Linked DNA regions of Homo sapiens: all the other regions are linked to region 3. The links are contacts of gene promoters, found by promoter capture Hi-C in human tissues and cell types (Jung and others, 2019). All regions are on one chromosome and are shown on one strand. The core of a region is centred on a gene start or on the middle of the fragment in contact, and the rest is flanking DNA. Distances in the headings are between cores, read along the strand shown.

What was found. The method cuts DNA at HindIII sites, captures the fragments that hold promoters and counts their contacts. A contact is called where the count stands out against the background at its distance.
Region 1: a fragment that was not itself captured here is called in contact with the fragment with the promoter of OAS1 in region 3 in 2 of the 25 tissues and cell types used here (mesendoderm cells and thymus).
Region 2: a contact is called between a fragment that was not itself captured here and the fragment with the promoter of OAS1 in region 3, in 1 of the 25 tissues and cell types used here (lymphoblastoid cells).
Region 4: a fragment that was not itself captured here is called in contact with the fragment with the promoter of OAS1 in region 3 in 2 of the 25 tissues and cell types used here (liver and thymus).

What each region holds. Positions count from the first base shown.
Region 1 is chr12:112,520,807-112,523,927 of GRCh38, reverse strand. No RefSeq gene overlaps it. Among named protein-coding and RNA genes, the nearest start is that of PTPN11, 100 kb to the right of the region's middle. The HindIII fragment of the contact is 4,619 bases long and covers 1-3,121 here.
Region 2 is chr12:113,195,089-113,198,109 of GRCh38, reverse strand. It overlaps DRC10 (dynein regulatory complex subunit 10), which reads left to right. Exons shown (of 5, transcript NM_001330452.2): 4 at 498-569; 5 at 2,221-2,664. The coding sequence ends at 2,535. Among named protein-coding and RNA genes, the nearest start is that of RITA1, 11 kb to the right of the region's middle. The HindIII fragment of the contact is 6,666 bases long and covers 1-3,021 here.
Region 3 is chr12:112,905,309-112,908,393 of GRCh38, reverse strand. OAS1 (2'-5'-oligoadenylate synthetase 1) reads right to left here and starts at 1,432. Exons shown (of 6, transcript NM_016816.4): 1 at 1,175-1,432. The coding sequence starts at 1,354. RefSeq lists an enhancer at 1,152-1,591. The HindIII fragment of the contact is 21,386 bases long and covers 1-3,085 here.
Region 4 is chr12:112,548,242-112,551,474 of GRCh38, reverse strand. No RefSeq gene overlaps it. Among named protein-coding and RNA genes, the nearest start is that of PTPN11, 130 kb to the right of the region's middle. The HindIII fragment of the contact is 5,589 bases long and covers 1-3,233 here.

The DNA.
Region 1 (3,121 bases), core at 217-2,716, 380 kb after region 3:
AATCAGCTCCTGCCAGGCCCCTCCTCTGACACATGGGGATTACAGTTTTAGATTATGAGATTTGGGTGGGACACAGAGCCAAATGATATCAGGCCTCAGTTTACACATCTGTAAAATGAAGATAACCATAGCACCTACCCAGTATGGTTGTTTTGTGGATTTAATAAGAGAATCCATGTCAGGCACCTTAGCACAGTGCCTGTATATACAAGGGGACTTCAAAAAGTTCATAGATATTGAAGTAAAAGATAAAAATATAAAATATAAATTTTATTTCTCAACATAAGCTCCATCAAGATCATGACTTTTTTTTTTTTTTTTTTTTTTGACACAGGGTGTTGCTCTGTCACCCAGGCTGGAGTGCAGTGCCATGATCATGGCTCACTGCAGCCTCAATCTCCTAGGTTCAAGCAATCCTCTCACTTATAGGCATGAACCACTGTGCCCAGCAAAGATCATGACACTTTTGTAAGTCATGATACCAGCCATTTAGTCCAACCCTGAAGAACTGAGGGTCCTGGGAATTGAACCCTGTCAATGCAGTCTTTTTTACATTATTAACAGTAGAAAAATGGGCCCTTTGAAGATTTTTTTAAGATTAAGAAACAAAAAGAAGTCAGAAGGTGCAGAATCAGAACTGTAAAGTGGATGCCTAATAATTTCCCATAAAAACTCTTACAAAATCGTCCTTGTTTGATGAGAGGAATGAGCAGTAGTGTTGTCATAGTGGAGGAGGACTTTCTGGTGAAGGTTTCCCAGGTGTTTTTCTGGTTAAAGCTTTAGCTAGCTCTCTCAAAACACTCTCATAATCAGCAGATGTTATCATTCTTTGGCCCTCCAGAAAGTCAACAAGCAAAATGCCTGGAGCATCCCCGAAAACTGTTGCCATGACCTTGCTCTTGACCGGTCTGCTTTTGCTTTGACTGGACTACTTCTACCTCTTAGTATCCATGGCTTCGCTTGGGCTTAGTTTTCAGGATCATAATGGTAAATGTTTCATCTCCTGTTACAATTCTTCAAATAAATGTTCAGGATCTTGATCTCATTTGTTTAAATTTCCATTGAAAACTCTGCTTTTGTCTGCAGCTGATCTGGGTGTAATAATTTTACACTCATGAGTGGCATTGCTCAACTTTAATTTTTCACTCAGAATGGTGTAAGCAGAACCAATGGAGATGTCTATGGTGCTGGCTATTGTTTCTGCTGTTAATCATCAGTCCTCTTCAGTTAGGGCACAAATAAGATAATTTTCTCCTCGAAAATTGATGTGGATGATCTGCCACTGTGCACCTCATTTTCGACATTGTCTTTTTTTTCTTTTTTGAGATGGAGTCTCACTCTGTCACCCAGGCTGGAGTGCAGTGGTGCAATCTTGACTCAGTGCAGCCTCCACCTCCTGGGCTCAAGCAATTCTCCCACCTCAGCCTCCACAGTAGCTGGAATGTCGGGCGTGTGCCACCATGCCTGGCAAGTCAATATTGTCTTGTCCCTTCTTAAAATGAGATATCCATTTGTAAACTGCTGATTTATCTACCACATTTTCCCCACAAACTTTTCATAAGGCATTAGTGATTTCACCATCCTTCCACCCGAGCTTCACCATAAACTTGATGTTTGTTCTTACTTCAGTTTTAGGAGAATTCATGTTGCTCTGACAGGGGTTCTTTTCAAACAGATGTCTTATCCTTCTTAGTGCCTCAAACTAGATCCTGTTCAGACGTGTTGTAACAAGTTAGTATGAGTTTATTTTGGTGCAAAAAAACTTTGAGATCCATACACAGTTGTTTGTTTGTTTGATTGTTTGAGACGGAGTCTTGCTCTGTTGCTGAGGCTGGAGTACAATGGCACCATCTGGGCTCACTGCAACCTCCACCTCCTGGGTTCAAGTGATTCTTGTGCCTCAGCCTCCCGAGTAGCTGGGACTACAGGCGCCCGCTACCACGCCTGGCTAATTTTTGTATTTTTAGTAGAGATGTGGTTTCACCATGTTGGCCAGGCTGGTCTCGATCTCCTGATTTCAAGTGATCCACCTGCCTCAGCCACCCAAAGTGCTGGGATTACAGGCGTGAGCCACCATGCCCAGTTGTAATTTTTCTTCTGCAAACATTGTATTATTTGCTTTTGCATGTTGCTGAACATGCAAAATAAATGGTCTCGTTCTGTTCATATGATTCTATGATTGGCTTGTCTCCCTCAACCCTTCGTATGATTTATCTGTGTTGATGTGATCCACTCCTTTCCACTGATGCATCAGACTTCAGTGTATGGAAAATAGCACAACTGACACCATAACCATTTTTCTTTAAAGGAACATTTGCAGGGGGTGGTACTTCTGTTGTGGGATACTACAAATAAACAATCATTCTCGCCAGTGCGGTGGCTGACGCCTGTAATCCCAGCACTCTGGGAGGCCAAGGCAGGTGGATCGCTTGAGCTCAGGAGTTCAAAACAAGCCTGGGCAACATAGCAAGACCCTCATCTCTACAAAAAATTCAAAAATTAGCCGAGCGTGGTGGTGTGTGCCTGTAGTTCCAGCTACTCAGGAGGCTGAGACAGGAGGATGGCTTGAGCCCAGGAGGCGGAGATTGCAGTAAGCTAAGATCCCACCACTGTACTCCAGCCTAAGCAACAGAGCGAGACCCTGCCTCAAAAACAGGCCATGCGTGGTGGCTCATGCCTATAATCTCAATACTTTGGGAGGCCAAGAAGGGCAGATCACCTGAGGTCAGGAGTTTGAGACCAGCCTGGACAACATGGTGAAACCCTGTCTCTACTAAAAATACAAAAATTAGCCAAACGTGGTGGCAGGTGCCTGTAATCCCAGCTACTTGGGAGGCTGAGGCACGAGAATCACTTGAACCCGGGAGGCAGAGGTTGCAGTGAGCTGAGATCGTGCCACTGCAGTCCAGCCTAGGCGACAGAGCTAATCTCAGTCTCAAAAAAAAAAAAAAAAAAAACCAACAATTGTTCCCATGATGTCTATTAGCTCATTTAATCCTCACAGTGGCATGGGCAGTACGGTACAATTGTCAGCCACATTCTTCAGTGAGGAAACTGAGGCTCTAGAAGCTTAAGTTACCAAAATCACACAGGCACGACTCCTAACCAGCTCTTGACTCTC
Region 2 (3,021 bases), core at 522-3,021, 290 kb before region 3:
GAGTAGCTGAGATTACAGGTGTGCATCACCATGCCTGGCTAATTTTTGTATCTTTAGTAGAGATGGGGTTTTGGCATGTTGGCCAGGCTGGTCTCAAACTCCTGGCCTCAAGTGACCCGCCTGCCTCAGCCTCCCAAAGCGCTGGGATTACAGGCGTAAGCCACCACGCCAGGCTGATTTCTGTCCTTTAAACAGCACAAGCTTGTTCCTACCTCAGGGCCTTTGCACCTGCTGCTTTCTCTGCCTAGGATGTCCTGGAACCAGGCTGCTGGCATCAAATTCAGGCTCTGCCACCCATTAGCTCTGTCACCTTGGGCAAGTAAGATAGCATGTCTGAGCCTCAGTTCTCTCCCCTGTGAAATGGAGAAAAGGGAACCTCCTTGTTCAATAGGCGAGGCATGTCAAGCACCTGCCAGAGCCTAGTGATGCAGAGAGTGCTCAGTGCTGTTGATTGTTAATATATTCCATCAAACAATGACAAATTGGATCTTTTCTAGAAGAAATATAAAGTGGAAACGGAAATCGAGAACTGGATCCAGAAATATGATACAGAGATGGGTGAGAAGCAGGTATTTGTCGCTGAATAAGTCTCTCTCGCATGCTTTTCCCAAGACCTTCTAGGAATGGGATGAATGGGAAAAGTAGCCTTGGGATGGTCCATGGAGTGGGCAAACTTCTGAGCCTCTCTGCAGGGAGCACTTCCCTTTGTTTAAAGGGTTTGTCCAGCCTGGGGCAGAGTGAGAGGTGGGAAAGAAAAGAGCCAGAAGCTGCAAGGCCAGGTGCTGTGGCTCATGCCTGTAATCCCAGCACGTTGGGAGGCTGAGGTGGGAGGATCGCTTGAGCTCAGTAATTCAAGACCGGCCTGGGCAACAGAGCAAGACTCCATCTCTATTAATTTAAAAAAAAAAAAAAAAAAAAAGCGACTGGCTAGAAGGGCCTGACACTCTGACACTGGGCCTAATGATCATGGCTCCATCTAGTGTCCACATCCCATACTCCTCTGGATGGGCTCCTGCCAGCACCCCTACAAGGTGGGGCTCCTTCCCACAGACTCAGATGGGAGCCTGCCTCCACTGCATCACTCAGTCACTCAGCCAGTTTTTATTGAGCACCTGAGATGTGCCAGCTGTGTGGCCTTAAGCAAGGTACTTGACCTTCCCAAGCCCGTTTCTGCATCTGATTAGCAAAGGCAGTAATTCCCATTTTGGGACCATGGCGGGGATTCGGTGAGACACCATGGCTGCAAGTGTGTGTGCCCAGCACAGGGTCTGGCCTGGAGGGAAGTGCTCAGGGGGTGGTAACCTTCAAATCGAGACACGCCCAAACCCTTCACCCAGCACTGGGATAACATTGGTGGCCCATGGCTCCAACCCAGGGGCCAGGGAGGACTGGGGAGCACTGGAGAGCACTGGAGGTAATATGCGCTGGAGTGAGCCAAAGCCAGGTGTGCTCTTCAGAGAAGGGCAAGTCAGAACCTTGTCCTGGGCAACCATCAGGGCCTGGAGAGGGGAGCTTTGCAGGCGGGGGCTCTCATTTCTCTGGGTCCCATGAGGGTTGTGGGTTGGTTGCGGGCAGGGACTTTGTCCACCCAGCTCTGTGTCCTCTGGCAGTGCTCTGCTTTTTGTAGATGCTGGGAAAACATCAGTGGAAGGAAGGAAAACGGGTGTAAATGACAGCAGGAGAGGCTATGGTTAGACATAAGGAAGAACTCTGGGACTCCGTTTGAGGCCTGAGAAAGTTCCTTCTCCTCTGGTGTCTTGTGGAACAGACTGCTTTCATGGCAGCAGCCTCCATTTCTTGTGTCCCCACTGTGTGCCTGGCATCATGTCCAGTACATTGTGTCCATCGGGTCATTTAATCCTAGAAACAGCCCCTGGCTTCGGAATCGTCCCCATGTTTCAGATGAGGAAAAACGAAGGCCCGAAAGGTGAAGTCAGTTGAGGTGTGGCAGAGCTGGGACTTAAAACTAAGTCTGCCCAACTCACAAGCCCATGTTCTTTTCCTGTTCCTGAAATTATTTCAGTTGGGTCCTTCCTAGAGCTAGGATGGAGCCCATCCCCTCTCCCCATCCATGTCACTGGGACCGAGAGATGCTGAACAGCTTAGCTTAGGGGCATCGCTGGGGCAGAAGACCATTTGGGAAGGGTAAGGGGGCCTCAGGGAGGAGGGTGGGAGGAGGCACTCTATGTGTGGTGACCCCAGCCCCACCCCTCACCCCAGGAGGAGTTGGAGGATCTGGACGCTGTTCACAGGGAGGAGAAGATCTCGCTGGAGGAGCTCAGGCGGAGGCACAAAGTGCTGGTGGGAGAGTTTGCGCAGATCCGGGAAGAGCGGGAGATCAACTCCAAGAAAAGGATGGAGGCAGAGCAGGAGATGGTGCGCATGGTACGGGCGGCCACGCTCATCCAGGCCCTATGGAAGGGCTATCTGGTGCGCTCCCTGCTCAGATCCAAGAAGAAGCGGGGCAAGGGCAAAGCAAAGGACAAGGAGAAGGGCAAGCAGAAAGGCAAGGAGAAGGGCAAGGGCAAGAAATGAGCTCTCCACCCAGCCCGCTCCTGACCCTTATCTTCCCAGAGACCAGGCCAGGAAGGCCCGAGATGGAGAGCACTAAATTCACGGCTTTCATGTTTTTATTTAATAAATTAAAAAGTATTTGAAGCCACATTGAAGGGAACGCTCTACGAATAAATCTCTTTACCCAGGGCTGTGGGCTGTGTGTGTCCAGCTCACAGATGGTGTTTCCATGAGGAGCGTGCAGCCTGGGGTGTCAGCCCAGAGATTATGGTTCCTTACTTCAGCCTTAGTGGGAAACCAGACCCCAGCTGCAGCCCGGAAGCTGCCATGGCCATGATGGACACATCACTCACCAGGGCAGCGGGGTGTGGGTCACAGCTGCCCATAGGGGGCAAAGAAGCAGGCAGGGAACTCCAGGAGGAGCGGGGCCTCAGGTTTCAGGCTGCCCCTAACCCTGTTCTGGGATTAATTTGCTTGCAACTTCCCCTGCTCTAGCACTGTGAAAGC
Region 3 (3,085 bases), core at 183-2,682:
AATGATGCTATGATTTGGATGCCATTATCATTAGTTCCCATTTTACAGATGGGAAAATGGATGCTCAGTGAGATAATATATCAGCCCCATCACCCAGCTAGTAGGTGGCAAATACAATTCAAACCTGGGGGCCTTCTTCCAGGATCTGTGTTCTTTTCCCATTGTCCTTTACGATGCCCAGGACTAGCTTATGCTGGGTGGTTCACACTTACTATTTTACTTAATCTACACGGCCCTATGAGGTATTGAGGGAAAGTAGAGGAAAAATCAGTTAGGTAAATGGTCAAGGCTGGGCCCTGGAGGAGCGGCCTGCCTGAAACTGGCGCAGGGAGTGGGACTTACCTAAAACAAATCCACAGTTATACATACAAGAGAAGCAGCGCTTTATGCTTGCCTAGAGATATACCCACAGCTGCATAAGGTAAGGGAAGTTGCACAGCTTTACTGATAAAAAGTTTCTCAAACAGTTACAGGGAGGAGAGTGGTTTCTTATAAAAGTTTTTTGCATTCAGCTGCAATCTGGCAATCCACTCAGACTTCCCTCTCCACAGTGGAGACAGCTTTCTTCTTTTGCTTACTGAACTTTTGCTCCAAGCTCACGTTTGTGTCCATGTTCCTTAATTTTCTTGGATGCAGGACAAAGAACCTTGGGTACTAATTCAGTGAGAAGCTGCTACATTAAGGTGCACTGGCAAGACTGCAACAGTATTGGGGATTATGGCTGAGGAAATTGGAACACAGAGTAGTTAAGTGACTTGCTCAAGGTCTTGCAGCCAGCAGGTGCTATTTGCTTTCAAAACATATGATTCTTCACTGCAGAAATGGTGAGCCCCTAGCCTGGCCACGAATTAGCAAACTGTTTACCAGAGCTGGGATTCAGTTCCCTATTTCTGAAATGGGCATCGCCCAGGACAGTGGTTCATAAACTTCAGCGGGAAGTAGGGGGGAGGGTCACTTGTTAATAATAGGGATGTAGGATTTCACCCCAGAATCTATTTTAACATGCTGTGTGGATAAATAAGAAACCACCATCCCAGAAGATCTCAGCTCTCTGTACTCACATTTGCACCCTGGGTTCTAGGTTTTTGCTTCTCTCTCTCTCTCTCTCTCATTCTCAATCTCAACTCTTGCACATTCAGCCACCCCTCCCCTGGCCAGGCAGGCCTGGACTCACCTTTACCACCTTGGACACACACACAGGGTAGGAGCTACCTCGGAAGCACCTTTCCTTCAGGAACCCACAGATGATGTCAATGGCATGGTTGATTTGCATGCGGAAACACGTGTCTGGCAAGAGATAGTCTTCAATGAACTTGTCCAGAGATTTGGCTGGGGTATTTCTGAGATCCATCATTGACAGGAGAGAGAGTGGCAACAGAACTGCCTCCCAGACCTGTTTGCTTTTATCTCTTCTGCTGACTGAGCTTGGACTGCTGTTGGTTTCGTTTCCTCAGAAGGGAGGAGCTGTCTTTGCACTTTCCTTTTGCAAATCAGACACTCCCCTGATCCCAGTGCTGAATTTCATCTGCTCACTCTTCTGCTTCCTGAAACTTACCCTTTGTCCTTTAGCCAGCAACAAGCAGCCCAGCCTTTCTCTGAACTCTGCTCTGGAAATGCATTTTAACCTCCAGCCAACATAAATCTTATTTAACAGATTTTGTGTTTCCTTCTTTATCTTTTTTTTGTTGTTGATGAAATCCTTTCACAGTTGTCTGTGGTATTTTCCAGCAATACATGCCCACTGCAAAAAGAAAAAAAGTCAGAAAAACCAGGAAGTGGAAAGATCATCTATGATTCTAACACTACAAAATTGCCTCTATAAACGTTTTGATATAGAGCTTTCCAGATTTTTTTCAAATGTTAACACACACACAAACACAGGTCTCTTTTCTTTTTGTTAAGAATGGTATTATACTATGCTTTTTTCCCTTTCAATTAGTAGATTTTTATTTTATTTTATTATTTTTTGGAGACAGGATCTTGCTTTGTTATCCAGGCTGGAGTGCAGGGGCATGATCATGACTCGTGCAACCTCAACTTCCTGGGTTCAAGGGATCCTCCTGCCCCAGCCTCCTGAATACCTGGGACTACAGGCATGCGTTACTGCACCCAGCTCATTTTTTATTTTTTGTAGAGACAAGGTCTTGCTATGTTGCCCAGGTTGGATTTTATTTCTCACAGCAGTTTTAGGCTTACAGAAATATTGAGCTGAATGTGCAGAGAGTTCCATAAGCTCTCTCTCCTGCCAATAAGTTCCTCTATTATTAACAGTACTGTGATACATTTGTTACAATTGATGAATTGATATTAATACATCATAATTAACAAAAGTCCATTTACATTAAGGTTTACATTAAGGTTCACTCTTGTGTCCTACAGTTCTATGGATTTTGCCAAACATAACATGTCATGTATCCACCATTACAGCACCATGCAGAATAGTTTTGAGATAGGAGGTGGGGCTTGACTCAGGGCCAGATTGAAGACTGGCTGGCATGAGCACCAGCACCATGAACAGTTTACTCATTCCCTGGCAATGACCCAGTTACCACCCTTCTTCTAGAAATTTCTGAATAACCTGCCCTTAATTTGCACGTATTTAAAAGTGGGTATGAATGTGACTATAGAAGTGCCCTGAGCTGCTGCTCTCCAGGCACTGCCTATGGGGTGGCCCTGCTCTGCAGGGACAGTCACAGAACTGTAACCCTGCTGCCTCAATAAACCTTTTTCTTCCTCCTCTAGCTCACCCTTGAATTCCTTCCTGGACGAAGCCAAGAGCCTTCCCGGACGGTGTCCCAGTTTTGGGGCTCCCCTGCCCTGCAAGAGTTTCACTACCTTAAAATCCCCTATGCCTCACCTGTTCATCCCTCTCTGAGTTAGATCTTTCTTCTCCTAATATATGCATTCAATGCTATAACTTTCCCTCTAAACACTACTTTCACTACATCCCACACTTTTTGATAGGCTGTTTTTTCATTTTAATTTAATTCAAAATATATTTATTTATTTTGTTGAGACAGGGTCTCACTCTGTTGCCCAGGCTGGGGTGCAGTGGCACAATCTTAGCTCACTGCAGCCTTGACCT
Region 4 (3,233 bases), core at 248-2,747, 360 kb after region 3:
CAAAATAATTATGACCTGCCTTTCCTAGCGTCTTTCAGCAAGAGACCCAAAGTGCTTTCCAACGTTAATGAGGCTGCTGAGGTTCCCAGCTGCCAAGCAAGTGGAGCAGGTCACAAACAGAGCTGGGGACAGAGCTGTCAGGGTCTCTCTTCCTGCTGCCTTTGAGAGGCCTCCAGGAGGAATAGCAGCTAAATCTGAGAAATATCTGTCCAGTTCCAAAAGGAAAAATGAATCTATGCTTTGGGTCACTTCTTTCAATGCTAGTAAAATGCAACACAGAAAAGAGAAGCCAGAAAATCTTAAAATGTTGTGAAAGGAATCTTACATAATTAAACTGATTACCAGCAATCAGCTTATCCACTTCTGCCACAATCAAGCTGGAAATCAGCATCATGTCATTCAGGCGATCAACAAACACTCACTGTCATTTCTCATGTCACTCAGACATGCTCTTTCTTTCTTTCTTTCTTTTCTTTTTTTTTTTTTTTTGAGATAGAGTCTCACTCTGTCACCCAGGATGGAGTGTAGCTCACTGCAACTTCTGCCTCCCAGGTTCAAGCGATTATCTTGCCTCAACCTCCCGAGTAGCTGAGATTACAGGCATGTGCCAATACACCCGGCAAATTTTTGTATTTTTAGTAGAGATGGGGTTTCACCTTGTTGGCCAGGCTGGTCTCAAACTCCTGGACTCAAGTGATCCGCCCACCTCAGCCTCCCAAAGTGCTGGGATTATAGGGGTGAGCCACCGCACCCAGCCTAGACATGCTCTTTCTGACCTCTCTATTTAAAATAGCATCCCACTGCCCACCCTCCACCATCTCCACCCTTCTGTGTTCTCTTACCCTACTTTGTCTTCTTGTACTTATTACTATACCAAATTAGGATTGTTTATCTGTTTTCTCACTATTTCCTTCCTCACCTGAAAATAAACCTCATGTCTCCCTTATCTGCGGCTCTGCTCCGGCACCTAGCACAAGCGTCTCACGCATCGTAGGCCCTCAATACATATTTGTTGCATGAGTGAATGAGAAAGTGAATGAAGGAAGAAAGGAACAGCACTTTGAGGTAGGCGGGACTGATATATCTACGTCATTTAACAGCTGAAGAAACACGCTCAGCCACACTGAAGCCAATAGCCCAAGGAGGAGAAGGGAAAGGGACTAACAGGAATGCCTGCTGTGTGCCACGGACTGCGCCAGGTGTATTGCATAGGTTCTCTCATCTGAACCCGTTAACAACCCATGAAGAAGTCAGGGTTACCCATATATTATGGATGACTAGCAAAGTTCAGAAACTGCCTTGTGGTAGACAGAATAACACCCCCCCCACCCCCCACAAGATATCCACATCCTAATCCTTGGAACCTGTGAATATGTTACTTTACATGGTGCAAAGGGTAATTATGGTTGCAGATAGAATTAAGTTTGTTGGCTGGATGCAGTGACTTATACCTGTAATCTCAGCACTTTGGGAGGCCAAGGTGGGAGGATCACTTGAGCCCAGGAGTTTGAGACCAGCCTGGGCAACACAGAGAAACCCCGTCTCTACAAAACAACAACAAGAACAACAACAACAAACAAACAAAAAAATTAGCCAGGCTTGATTTTGCACACCTGTAGTCCCAGCTACTTGGGCGGCTGAGGCAAGAGCATCGCTTGAGCAAAGGAAATGGAGGCTGCCGTGAGCCATGATTGTACCACTGCACTCCAGCCTGGGCGACAGAGTGAAACAAAAGAACTTTTTAAAAATTAAACAGAATTAAGTTTGCTAACCTTAAAATAAAGAAATTATCCTGGATTATCTGGGTGGACTCAATGTAATCACAAGGGTCCTTTAAAGATTGAAGAGCACTTGGGAGGCTGAGATGGGAAGATCACTTGAGCCCAGGAGGTCGAGGCTGCAGTGAACCATGATCATGCCACTGCACTCCAGCCTGGGCAACAGAGTGAGACTGTGTCTCAAAATACACACACACACACACACACACACACACACACACACACACACATATATATATATATATATATATGAGGGAGGCAGAGTCAAAGGAATGCAACATGAGAAAGACTAAACCAGCTGTTACTGGCTTTGAAGGTTGAAGGGGCCATGAGCCAAAGAATGCAGGCATCCTCTAAGACAGGGGTCCCCAACCCCCAGGCCACCGGTTGGTACTGTCTGTGGCCTCTTAGGAACCAGGCCACACAGCAGGAGGCAAGCAGCAGGCAAGTGAGCAAAGCTTCATCTGTATTTATAGCCACTCCCCATCTCTCACATTACCACCTGAGCTCCGCCTCCTGTCAGATCAGCTGCGGCATTAGATTCTCATAGGAGCACGAACCCTATCGTGAACTGCTCATGCAAGGGATCTAGCTTGTGCACTCCTTATGAAAATCAAATGCCTGATGATCTGTCACTGTCTCCCATCACTCCCAGATGGGACCATCTACTTGCAGAAAAACAAGCTCAGGGCTCCCACTGATTCTACATTATGGTGAGTTGTATAATTATTTCATTATACATTACAATGTAATAATAATAGAAATAAAGTGCACAATAAATGTGATATACTTGAATCATCCTGAAACCATCCCCTACACCATCACCATCCCGCGGAAAAACTGTCTTCCATGAAACCAGTCCCTGGTGCCAAAAAGGTTGGGGACCACTGCTCTAAGAAGCTGAAGAAGGCAAGGAAACAGATTCTCCCCCTAAAGCCTCCAAAAAGTGGGCCGGGCGCAGTGGCTCGTGCCTGTAATCCTAGCACTTTGGGAGGACAAGGTGGGTGGATCACCTGAGGTCAGGTTTGAGACCAGCCTGACCAACATGGTGAAACCCTGTCTCTACTAAAAAATACAAAATTAGCCAGGCATGGTGGCACACACCTGTAATCCCAGCTACCTGGGATTACAGCTGAGGCAGGAGAATCCCTTGAACCTGGGAGGCAGAGGTTGCAGTGAACTGAGATCACACCACTGTACTCCAGCCTAGGCAACAGAGCGAGACTCTGTCTCAAAAAAAAAAAAAAAAAAAAAAAAAGACTCCAAAAAGCAATGCAGCTTTTTGACACCTTGATTTTTGCCTATTGCCTTTAGCCCATTGCAGTTCTGACTTTCAGAACTGTCAGATAATGAATCTGTGGTTTTTAAGCCCGAGTTTGTGGTCATTCATTACAGCAGCCATGGAAGACAAGCACACACTTCCCCATCACAGAGGAGTAAGTGATTGCGATTAGA